3 separate regions of the Homo sapiens genome follow, and regions 2 and 3 are each linked to region 1. The links are contacts of gene promoters, found by promoter capture Hi-C in blood cells and fetal thymus (Javierre and others, 2016). All regions are on one chromosome and are shown on one strand. The core of a region is centred on a gene start or on the middle of the fragment in contact, and the rest is flanking DNA. Distances in the headings are between cores, read along the strand shown. Region 1 holds the start of LINC00661 (long intergenic non-protein coding RNA 661). Region 2 holds the start of OR10H5 (olfactory receptor family 10 subfamily H member 5). Region 3 holds the start of OR10H1 (olfactory receptor family 10 subfamily H member 1).

Region 1 (4,075 bases), core at 411-2,910:
AGGATGAAGGAGACGACTGTTTGCATGGTCAGCATAGAACGGGCACCCGGTGAGTGCTCATGGATGACCCTCCTCGGGTAGCTGCCACCCACCTGGTTGTGACTGTCCCCAAGTCAGCAGGGGGGAAGAGAGCAGGTCACGCTTTCCTGAGTCTGATCAGGCAGCGGTGCTGAGATGTGCTTCTCACCCAGAAAAGGGTCCTTTCTGCACAACCACTTACAGCACCTCTGTGTCTCCAACTGCTCCATGACACGGAGGTAGGCTGGCGGCACTTGGCACAGTGACAGCATGGGTTCACAGCCTCTGTCATGACGGGGCCCTACCTGGCTCAGCAGGGCCCAGGGTCAGCGTCCTCTGCCCGCTTAATGGTCAACATGTATGCGTGCAATTTGTCTGTGTATGTGAGGATGCATGTGTGTGGGTGAACACGTCTCTCCTCCAGCTGGGCCTGGCTGCTCCACTCAGGTGTGCACCTGGATCCCTGTCACTGTCACCCCCGGGCCTGTGGCCAGCATCAGAGCACCCATAGGTGCTCCTCAGCCTCTGCTCTTTCCATGCTGGGTGGTCCTGGGGATGCAGATGGGGCAGGGACATAGGGCAAAGGGCAGAGGGCAGAGGGCAGAGGGCAGAAGCCAGGCTTCCCCCTTGGGGTGACTCGCGTAGTGTGTAAAGTGCCAGGTCTGTGTGGCAGGGCTGGATTCAATGCAATGCACCCTCTCACCTCCTCCTCCCAGAAGCCCACTGGGGTGCTGTGACTCACCCCCCACCCCATGGATGGAGGCAATCACGGAGGCTTCGAGGACTAACCCGTGGCCTGAGATCACCCAGGATCCCACTGGCCAGGCTTCCAATGGTTAAGCTCCCACTGAACAGGTCCTAGCTGACCACCCCCACAATGACCAGGTCCCACTGACCAGATGTGGACTGACCAGGTCCTGCTGACTGGGCCCCACAGACCAGGCCCTGGCTCATCAGACACCACTGACAAAGGCCACAATAACAAGGCTGCAACTGACAAGGCCCTCACGGCCCTCACTGACTAGGTCCCAACTGATGGACCCCACCAAATAGATCTCACTAATCAGACCCCCGCTGACCAGGCCCTAACAACTGCTGGACCCCTGCTGGCCAGGCCCCAAATGCTGAACCCCACTCACCAGGCCCCAAAAGCTGAACCCCACTGACTGGGCCCCAAATGCTGGATCCCTGCTGACAGGCCCCAACTATGGGATCCCCACCAACCAGGCGCCAACTGTCAGACCCCTGCCAACCAGGCCCCGGACGCTGGACTCCACTGACCATGTCCCAGCTACTGGACCCCCACTGACCAGGCCCCAACAACTGCTGGACTGCACTGATCAAGCCCAAACTGCCAGACCCCACTGACTGGGCCCCAACTCCTAGACCCCTCCTGACTGAGCCCCAACTGCCAGACCCTTGCCAACCAGGCCTCTTCTTATGAGACCCCTGCTGACCAGACCCCAACTGCTGGGCCCCTGCTTACCAGGCCCCCACATCCACACCTCACTGACTAGGCCTCACTGCTCTGATCCCCGCCGATCAGGCCCCAAATGCCGGGCCCAGATGACCAGGCCTCAACTGCTAGACGGCCCACCAACCAGGCCTCAGCTCCTGGACCCCTGTTGACCAGGCCCCAACTGCCAGACCCCAATGACCAGGCCCCAACTGCCAGAGCCCTGCTGACCAGGTTCCAACTGCTGGATCCCCTTTGACCAGGCCCCAACTGTTGGACCCCCGACAACCAGGTCCCAACTGCCTGATTCCGCCAACCAGGCCCCAACTGGTAGACCCCTGCTGACCAGGTCCCAACTGCGAGACCCATGCAGATGAAGGCCCAGCGTCCAGACCTCACTGCCTAGACCGCACTGATCTGATCCTCACTGACCAGGCCCCAACCGCCAGACCCCACCTACCAGGTCCCAGCTGCTGCATCCCTGCCAAATAACCCCCAGCTGCCGTATCCCCTCTGACCAGGCCCCAACTGCTGGACCCCCTCCAAACAGGCCCCAACTATAAGACCCCGCTGACCAGGCCCCAACTGCCAGACCCCCATGGACGAGGCTGCAACTGCCAGATCTCTGCTCACCAGGCCCCAACTGTGGGACCCCCGCTGGCCAGACCCCAACCATGAGACCCTCGCCAAACACGCCCCAACTACTGGACTCTTGCTGGCCAGGCCCCAACCCCCAGGGCCTAGTCAGTCAGTGAGACCTGACTAGGTCTCACTGATCAGATCCCCGCTGACCTTGCCCCAGCTGCAGACCCCTATTGACTGTGGGCGGAGGATTACCCAGGTGCCGAGGTGAGAGACTGAAGACACAAACTGTTTCAGTATAATAAAGAAAATAGTTAGAATAAGAATAGTCATAATACAAATTAGATATAGAGATGATCATGGACAATTATCAATCATTATTATAAACATTATTAATCATTAGCTTTTAATATTACTCTTTGTTGCGTTACTAACATAACCTAGGAATAACTGGCGGGTAGAGGGTCAGGTGCTGAAGGGACATTGTTAGAAGTGACCTAGAAGGCAAGAGGTGAGCCCTCTGTCAACGCGTGCATAAGGGCAGCTTGAGGGCTCCTTGGTCAAGCGGTAACGCCAGTGTCTGGGAAGGCGCCCGTTACTTAGCAGACTGCGAAAGGGAGTCTCCTTTCCTTGGAGGAGTCAGGGAACACTGCTCCACCAGCTTCTTGTGGAAGGCTGGATATTATCTAGGCCTGCCGCAGTCATCCGGAGGCCTAAACCCCTCCTTGTGGTGCTGTGCTCCAATGGTCACTTTCATGTTCCTCCCGTACTCCTGGTTCCTCTTTGAAATTTGTAGTAGATAGCGGTAGAAGGAATAGTGAAAGTCTTACAGTCTTTGATCTTTCTTGTAAGTGCATAGAAGAAAACGCTGACGTATGCTGCCTTCTCTCTCTCTGCTTCGGCTACCTAAGAGGGAAGGGCCCCCTGTGCTGTGATCACGTGACTTGCTTCACCTTGTCAATCACTTAGAAGATTCACCCTCCTGACCCTACGCCCCTTGTCTTGTATGCAATAAATATCAGTGTGCCCAGCCATTCAGGGCCACTACTGGTCTCCGCGTCTTGATGGTAGTGGTCCCTCGGGCCCAGCTGTTTTCTCTTTATCTCTTGGTCTTGTGTCTTTATTTCTTACGCTCTCTCGTCTCTGCACACGGGGAGAACACCCGCTAAGTCCCGTAGGGCTGGACCCTCCAATCAACCAGGTCCCAACTGCTGGACCCCACTGACCAGGCCCCAGGAACTGCCGGCCGCCTGCTGACCAGGCCCCACTGGTCCGATCCCCACTGAGCAGTCCCCTGCTGATCAAACCCCACTGACCAGATTTTCCATGACCTGACCCTCATTGAATGGATCCCGTTAAGCCGACCACAATGACCATGTCCTCACTGACCAACACCCCCGTGAGTAGGCCCCCCCACTGACTAGGCTTCTGATGACCAGGCCCACACTGCCAGGGCCCCACTGACCAGACCACATGACATGGCCCCACAGACCAGGCCCCACTGACCCAAACCACTGACTGGTCCCAACTGGCCAGGAGCTCAATGACAAGGTCACTGCCAACAGTGCCCCTTACAACCAGGCCTCCACTGACCAGGGCCCCACTGAGTAGGCCCCACTGGGGAGTCCTTCGGTGGCACCGCATTAGCTGACCACACCCCTGACAACCAGGTCTCTGCTGACATGGTCCCCACAGAACACGTCCCCATTGACCAGGTCCCAAATAACCAAATCCCATGGACCGGGATCTGCTGACTAGGCCACACTGACATGCTTCCAATGGTGAGACCTTCGCTGACTGAGCAGGACCACACCGCCAGGCCTCAGCTGACTAGACCACAATGACGAGGTTTCCACTGACCAGGTGCTAACCGCCCAACCCCTACTAACGAGGCTCTACTTTTCAGATCCCGCTGACCAGACCCCCAGTGACCAGGCCCCTACTGAACAAAATACCACTCCCTACACCCCCACTGACTAGGTTTTTTGTTGTTTGTTTTTGAGATGGAGGCTGCCTCTG
Region 2 (4,075 bases), core at 935-3,434, 230 kb after region 1:
ATGCCACTACATTCCAGCCTGGGTGACAGAGCGAGACCCTGTCTCAAAAAAAAAAAAAGAAAAGAAAAGAAAAAAAAGAAAAGAGAAATACAGAAAGGGCTCTCTCAGCTCTCTGGCACATTCTGTCCCACTCTTTCCCAGAACAGCACCTTAGCAGAAATCTCCAAGGGGGCTCTCCAACTCCCCTGCACAAGTCTAGACCTAGGGAAGGACAAAGGTCAGGGTCCTTCTCCCAGCTGAGGGCTCCCAGGCAGAACCCCAGACTGGTGCACACGCAGAACCTCAGGCTTCTGCACACACAGAACTCCAGAATGATGCACACGCAGAACCCTAGGCTGGTGCACACACAGAATCCCAGGCTGGTGCAAATGCAGAATCCCAGGCTGGCACACACGCAGGCTCCCAGACCCTGCTCCAGTGCCCTCTCTCCTCAAAGGAGACACAATTCAACTCATCCAGCTCTTTCTGCTTATGCACTTTATCATACAACTGAACACACAGATGCAAAGGCAGACAGATCTGAGCAATGCCACACAGTCGCACTGGCTCTGAAATGCACACTGGCGGTGACACCCCCAGCCAGAACCAGAGACACCACCACTCATTCTGCACACACCTATGGAGCCCTTGCCAAATGCCTGGTGCTCATCTGGGGCTGGAATAAACTGGAGACACACAGCCATTCCATGTGTGAGGGCACTGTGTGTGTTGAATCATGTCCCTCCAAAACTCATGTTCATTCAGAACCTCAGAATGTGACCTTTGGACACAGGGAGGGGAACAACACACACTGGGGCCTGTTGGGGTAGGGCAGGGGTGGGGAGAGCCTCAGAAAAATAGCTAATGTATGCCAGGCTTAATACCTAGGTGATAGGTTGATAGGTGCAGCAAAGCACCATGGCACACATTTGCCTGTGTGACAAACCTGCACATCCTGAGCATGTACCCTGAAACCAAACTAAACTAAACTAAAATAAAATAATGTGACCTTAGGTGGCAATAGAGTCTTTTACAGATGTCATTAAGGTAAGGATCCAAAAATGAGATCAGCTGGGTGTGGTGGCTCACACCTATAATCCCAGCACTGTGGGAGACCAAGGTGGGTGGGGCGGGGGATTGCTTGAATCCAGGAGTTCGAGACCAGCCTGAGCAACATGGCAAAACCCCATCTCTACAAAAATTAGCTGGGCGTGGTGCTGTGTGCCTGCGCTAACAGCTGCTTAGGAGGCCAAGTGGGAGGATCAGTTGAGCCTGGGAGGTCGAGGCTGCAGTGAGCTGTGATCGTGCCACTGCACTCCAGCCTGGGTGACAGAGCGAGACCCTGTCCAAAAAATAATAATAATAAAAATAAAAATGAGATTATTCTGAATTAGGTTGTTTACTAAATCCAACAACTGGTGCCCCTCAAAGACGAGGGGAGGACACACAGAGGAAAAGGTCGCGTGAAGAGAGAGGCAGAGATTGGAGCGATGCAGCTACAAATCAATCAATGCCTAGAGCACCCAGAAGCTGGAAGAGGCAAGGCATCTTCTCCCTTAGAATCTTCAGAGGGAGAGTAGCTTTGTAGACGTCTTGCTTTAAGACGTCTAGCCTCCAGAACCCTGCAAGAATGCATTTATCTTGTTTTAAGCCACAAGGTTTGCGGCACTTTGAAATGGCAGCTACAATAATCTCATACAAGCGCACACAACTGCACACACACACACACAGTGAAGGCAGGAGTACACATGGGTGATGCCTAAGTACACCCACATGCATGGTGACACACTCAATGTCACCCGCTTGGCTCAGAACCACCCTCCTCCACAACTTAGTATAGAGACCACTCCCCACCCCAGCATGGACCCTGGTGGCCACGACTGCTGTGGAAAGGGGGCTGCTCTAGGCAGTAGGTGGACTCTATGGGGGACTTGGAGTGAGGACAGGCTGATCCAGCCTGGAGTCAGGTGGCTGAGGCTATAGAACCCCTACTCCATATCATCCCATGCTCCCTCTCGTTTCTTTTCCCAAACCTGTGCCTCCCTCTGTTCCAATTTTCCCTGCTTCTCTTGCCTTCTCCCTTCCACCTCCCAGTACTCTTGCCACTTCATCCTGGAAAGCAGGTTTGGAAATAGACGACTCCACTTACCTTCATCAGAGACCTTTAGGGACGCCTTGCAGCCAGGCCTGTAATGGCCCTGGGCACAGTGCACCCAGGGTGAGAGCTTCATCTCTGCAGGCGTCTTCCCCAGTGGCACGTTCCCAGAGGTGTCTTGAGGAGCCTGCCTGGGATGCAGGATGCAGGGTAATCGAAGTCCAAGGAGGGAGGCGGGGGACCTTGGGATTGCCCTCTCCATTCCTGCCTCCCTCCTTCCTTTGCTGCTTCCCTCCCTCTTTTCTTCCTTCTCTTCCTTCCTTCCTCTCTTCTTCCCTTCTTCCATCTTTCCTCCCTTCCTCCTGCCTGGGACCCCTTCCACCACTACTCACTCTCACTTATCTCAGTCCTGTTCTCATTTGAGGTTTCAGTTTTTACATCACCTCCTCCCTAAAGATCTCACCATCAAACCCTGACACCACCATCAAACCCTGACACCACCACCACCACCACCCCCTGCGGCTAGCGAGGCTGGGCTGGGCTGCCCCAATTCCAAGCATTTTGGAAAAATGGGACTGGATTCTGGGTGATGTTTCCCAGGATGGTGTCTCTTCTCAACAGATATCAGGAAAGGGATCTGGAGAGACACAGAGGTGTGATTCTCAGAAGAAGCATCCTCTATGGTTGCCTCTGGGAACACAAAGCCCACAGAGGGCAGGGAACAAGGCCAAGGTCACACGGTAGGTTCCTGCAGCAAGCCCAGATGGAGTGGAGGGGCCAAGAGCTCCAGCTCTGCCTCTTCCTCCCCATAAACTTGACAGGGTGCATCATGACCCAGGTATCAACACCTTCAGAATCTCCCAGTTCCCCATAACTCCAGAAACAGTCCAACAAAGATTTCAGATACTGGAATTATCAGGCAAGGACTATGAAACAATATTGCTTACGAAGTTTAAATAACGAAATGTAATTTTGGAAATATCTTCAAGGATAAAGCATTGTAAAGAGCGGCAGGGTTGATTTGAAAAAAAAGATATATAATTTTTAGAACCAAAGCTACAATATTAATATCCCAGGAGAAGTTTAATGCATGTCAGACACAATTGAAGAGAGAATTAGTGAGTTGGGGGCCGGGCGCGGTGGCTCATGCCTGTAATCCCAGCACTCTGGGAGGCTGAGGCAGGTGGATCACTTGAGTTCAGGAGCTCAAGACCAGCCTGGCCAACATGGCGAAACCCCATCTCTACTCAAAATACAAAAATTAGTCAGATGTAGATTCTGGATATTAGCCCTTTGTCAGATGAGTAGATTGCAAAAATTTTCTCCCATTCTGTAGGTTGACTGTTCACTCTGATGGTAGTTTCTTTTGCTGTGCAGAAGCTCTTTAGTTTAATTATATCCCATTTGTCAATTTTGGCTTTTGTTGCCGTTGCTTTTGGTGTTTTAGACATGAAGTCCTTGCCCATGCCTATGTACTGAAAGGTATTGCCTAGGTTTTCTTCTAGGGTTTTTATGGTTTTAGGTCTAACATTTAAGTCTTTAGTCCATCTTGAATTAATTTTTGTGTAAGGTGTAAGGAAGGGATCCAGTTTCAGCTTTCTACATATGGCTAGCCAGTTTTCCCAGCACCATTTATTAAATAGGGAATCCTTTCCCCATTTCTTGTTTTTGTCATGTTGTCAAAGATCAGATAGAAGGACCTCTTCAAGGAGAACTACAAACCACTGCTCGATGAAATAAAAGAGGATACAAACAAATGGAAGAACATTCCATGCTCATGGGTAGGAAGAATCAATATTGTGAAAATGGCCATACTGCCCAAGGTAATTTATAGATTCAATGCCATCCCCATCAAGCTACCAATGACTTTCTTCACAGAATTGGAAAAAACTACTTTAAAGTTCATATGGAACCAAAAAAGAGCCCACATTGCCAAGTCAATCCTAAGCCAAAAGAACAAAGCTCAGAATCTACAATGAACTCCAACATATTTACAAGAAA
Region 3 (4,075 bases), core at 511-3,010, 200 kb after region 1:
CATTATATGATTATACCACACTTTGTTTATCCATTTATTTATTAATAGACATTTGGATCTGCCATTGATAGACGTTTGGATCAGGCCATGTCCAGTGGCTCACACCTGCAATCCAAGCACTTTGGGAGGTCAAGGCAGGAGAATCGCTTAAGCCCAGGAGTTCCAAGAGCAGCCTGAGAAACAAAGTGAAATCCTACTCTCTACAGAAAAATTAAAAAATACCGTTTGGCTACTGTGAACAGTGCTGCTATGCACATTTGATGTCCAAGGATTTGTTTGAATCCTTTTCCATTCTTTTGGGTGTATACCTAGGAGTGAAATTGCTGAGTCCTTTGATAATTTCTATGTTAACTTTTTGATAAACTGTCAAACCATTTTGTGTGTTTTTAAAATGCAGATCTGATTCTCCCGTAGATATCTTTCCGTAACTTGGTTTTTCACTCAGCGTCTTAGAGTGAACTCTGTGTGAGTTTATGCAGACCAAAGTTTCTCAGTCTTGGCAATGTCGACATTTTTGTGTTGACAAAATGGCTGGAGTGCCGTGGCTACTCACAGGGGCAATCATAATGCATCGTTATATATAGTAGTATATAGTCCCATTTATATGAAATGTCTAGAATAGGTAAGTCCATAGAGCCAGAGCCAGAAAACAAATTGGTGGTTTTGAAGGACTGGGTGGGGTAGGGGAGTGGCTGCTAATGGGTATTAGGTGATGAAAACATTTTGGAACTAGACAGAGGCGGCGGCCACACAACATTGTGAATGCATTCAATCCCAGGGAATTGTATACTTTAAAGTGGTTGATTATTTTATGTGAATTTCACCTCAAAAGCAGAACGAAGCGAAAGCAACAATAATGCACAACAGAACTCTGATTTTATGGGTTTGCATTGTTTTCACATCCTACATGCTCATGAAGATCTGAAGGGATACCCATTAAATTCACCGTCACGATTGCCTGGCTGGCCATTGCATGGTTTGCTGCTTTGTATGTAGCATTTCAATTACATAATAAGAAGAAACAGGCCAGGCATGGTGGCTCACAGCTGTAATCCCAGCACTTTGAGAGGTCAAGGTGGGAGGATCCCTTGAGCCAAGGAGCTCAAGACCAGCCTGGGCAACAAAGCGAGACCCCATCTCTACAGAAAAATTAAAACTTAGCCCAGGTGTGGTGGCAAGCACCTTTACTCCCAGCTGCTCAGGAGGCTGAGGCAGGAGAATCATTTGAGCCTGGGAGGTTGAGGCTGCAGTGAGCCATAATCACACCACTGCACTCCAGCCTGGGCAACAGAGCTAGACCCTGTCTCAAAAAATAAAAATAAAAACAAATACGTGTGTGTGTGTTGGTTTTAAAAAATTATTTTAAAGGACATTTAGTTGGGCAAATGACCCAGTTGGAGAAGAATGAAGGTGACGGGGCATATCAAGGCAGCCTCTGCAGTCCCTGGGGGCAATGGCAGGGCTGCCCTCCTGTCAATTTCAACAGTCATGGGCCCAAACCCCAAATCTGTAGAGCACTAGACTCTGCTCAAGCTCTTGACAAGCTCAGGGAATTGACTCACCCCTGGCAGGCGGGGGGAATGGGAAAGTGAGGATACAGATTCCCTGAGGTTGCCTCCTCTCTGGCAGGGTCCCTGGGGTCCCAGCATCCCTGTAGCGGAGACAGAGACAGTAGGACCACAGCGAGGGAAGCCGGTGGGCAGGGAGTCAGGGAGGGATAAATAATCGCATTTGGGCTCAGTCAAGCCCCCGGCTCAGCTGGTGTGGCTGCTTGGTGCAGCCCACACCTGGTCAGCTCCCACCTGTGGAGAAACTCCAAACTAGAGCCTCCTACTGGGATGAAGCAGAAGCAGATGCCTGGAGTCCCAGGTGAGTCACCTCCCCTCTCAGCCACCTGACCAGGAGAGACCTGGGGAACCAGCACCTGCCAGGGACTCCAAGAAACCACCTGTTTATATTACTCCTTTAGCAATGTGAGTCTACAGGGCAGTGGGTGACAGGCAGAGGCCACTCACCACGTCTTAGTCAGTGTGCTGTTTGCTTAGCAGGACTTACCTTCTTCTATTTTTTTTTTTTTTTTTTTGAGACGGAATCTCGCTCTGTAGCCCAGGCTGGAGTGCAGTGGCGCAATCTCGGCTCACTGCAACCTCCGCCTGCCAGGTTCAAGCGATTCTTCTCCCTCAGCCTCCTGAGTAGCTGGGACTACAGGTGCGTGCCACCATGCCTGGCTAATTTTTTGTATTTTTAGTAGAGACAGGGGTTTCACCATGCTGGACAGGCTGGTCTTGAACTCCTGATCTCGTGATCCACCCGCCTCGGCTTCCCAAAGTACTGGGATTACAGGCATGAGCCATCGTGCCCAGCCAGGACTTGCCTTCTTTAGAGCTCCTGCTGCCTCATGAGGTAGGTCCCTTGGATGGGGGAGGTAACAGGTGCAGAGAGAAGACAGCCAATGCTCAATGTGACCCAAGGTGATGGTTTGATTTTAACCTCTCTTCTCGGTCTGTCCAGGCAAGAAGTCTACGGAAAAAGGATTGGGAAGAGGCGGAGAAAAGAGAGAAAGAGGATTCAGGGTTCAGAAGCTCCAGCCACCACCCCAGGGTGTAAAGAATCAGGGTGGGCCGGGTGCAGTGGCTCATGCCTGCAATCCCAGCACTTTGGGAGGCCAAGGTGGGAGGATCACTTGAGTCCAAGAGTTTGAGGCCAGCCTGGGCAGCATAGTGAGACCCTGTCTGTACAAAAAAATACAAAAATTGGCCAGGAATGGCAGGCACCTGTAGCTACTCCAGAGATTGAGGTGGGAGGATTGCTTGAGCCCAGGAAGTTAAGGCTGCAGTGAGCTGTGATTGTGCCTCTGCACTCCAGCCTGGGTGACAGAGGGATACCCTGTCTCTCTCTCTCTCTCTCTCTCTCTCTCTCTCTCTCTCTCTCTCTCTCTCTCTCACACACACACACACACACACACACACACACACACAAGGGAGGCGTCAATGGGAGCAGGTGGTGAGGGAATGGTTAGGAGCTGGGGATGAGAAGATGGAGAGAAAAGAGAGGGAAGTGGTGGCTTAAGTGGAAGAGAGGGGAGGCCAGACAGCTTCACTAAGAAGAGAGAGCCAGGATGGGTGAGAGTTAAGGCCAGATGGGGTCTCAGAGACAAGACAGGCCTGGCCCATGGAGTGATGCTGTCACCCAGGAGACACGTGACAACGTATAAGGACATTTCTGATTGTCGTGACTGGGGAGTGCTGCTGGTATCTATCTGGTGGGTGGAGACCAAGAATGCTGCTCAGTCTCCTGCAGTGCACAGGACACCCCTCTGAGAGAGAATGATTCGCCCCTAGCGTCCCTAATGCTGAAGGCAGGAAACCCTGCTCTAGGGATGTCTGTGGCAGGACTTGTCCACAGCCACGCTTAGCCCTAGAGTCTCTGAGTGGAGAACTGGCCCCACCGGGTGTTCCTGTCAGTGCTAGACAGTGGGCTTGCTTGCTCTCTCTCTTTCTTCTCACCTTTTTCTTCTCTTTCCCCTCTGTCCTCTCTTTCTCCCTACCTCTCTTTCCTCTCTCTGTTTCTCTTCCCACCTCCCTCTCTCTCCACTTCTCTCTCTCTCCCCACCCTTCTCTCTGTCTCTCTCTCTCTTTCCCCAACCCTCTCTCTCCCCACCTCCCACACTCTCTGTGTCTCTCTCCCCACTTCTCTCTCCCCACCTCTCTCTGTGTCTTTCTCCCTGTCCTTCTCTCTCTCTCTCCCCCCACCTCCCACTCTCTATCTCCCCACTTCTCTCTCTCCCTCCATCTCTCTCTCTCTCTGTGTGTGCTCTTTCCCCACATCTCTCTGTGTCTCCACCTCTCTGTCTCTCTCTTTCTCTCTCCCCACCTCTCTTTCTTTCTCTCCCCACCTCTCTCTCTCTGTTTCTCCCTCGCCTCCTCTCTCTCTCTCTCTCTCTCTCTCTTCCCCTGCCTCTCTCTCTATCCCCATCTCTCTCTTTCTCTTCCTACCTTTCTCTCTCTCTGTTTTACCTACAGAGGAACCCACTGGATGTTCTGCTGGTGAATCAATGCCCAGAAGCTCTAAATCC

What was found. Contacts are between HindIII fragments. The CHiCAGO score rates a contact against its expected background, and 5 or more counts as called.
Region 2: the fragment with the promoter of OR10H5 here is called in contact with the fragment with the promoter of LINC00661 in region 1 in 7 of 17 cell types (erythroblasts, naive CD8 T cells, non-activated CD4 T cells and 4 more); the score reaches 10.6 in erythroblasts.
Region 3: the fragment with the promoter of OR10H1 here is called in contact with the fragment with the promoter of LINC00661 in region 1 in 5 of 17 cell types (naive CD8 T cells, erythroblasts, total CD8 T cells and 2 more); the score reaches 7.8 in naive CD8 T cells.

The regions. Positions count from the first base shown.
Region 1 is chr19:16,013,219-16,017,293 of GRCh38, reverse strand. LINC00661 (long intergenic non-protein coding RNA 661) reads right to left here and starts at 1,660. Exons shown (of 9, transcript NR_026828.1): 1 at 1,505-1,660. It overlaps LOC105372291 (a long non-coding RNA gene), which reads left to right and starts at 2,238. Exons shown (of 2, transcript XR_936355.1): 1 at 2,238-2,323; 2 at 2,909-3,158. The HindIII fragment of the contact is 12,039 bases long and covers 1-4,075 here.
Region 2 is chr19:15,785,770-15,789,844 of GRCh38, reverse strand. It overlaps OR10H5 (olfactory receptor family 10 subfamily H member 5), which reads right to left and starts at 2,184. Exons shown (of 2, transcript NM_001004466.2): 1 at 2,129-2,184. The HindIII fragment of the contact is 16,043 bases long and covers 1-4,075 here.
Region 3 is chr19:15,813,349-15,817,423 of GRCh38, reverse strand. It overlaps OR10H1 (olfactory receptor family 10 subfamily H member 1), which reads left to right and starts at 1,760. Exons shown (of 4, transcript NM_013940.4): 1 at 1,760-1,869. The HindIII fragment of the contact is 16,264 bases long and covers 1-4,075 here.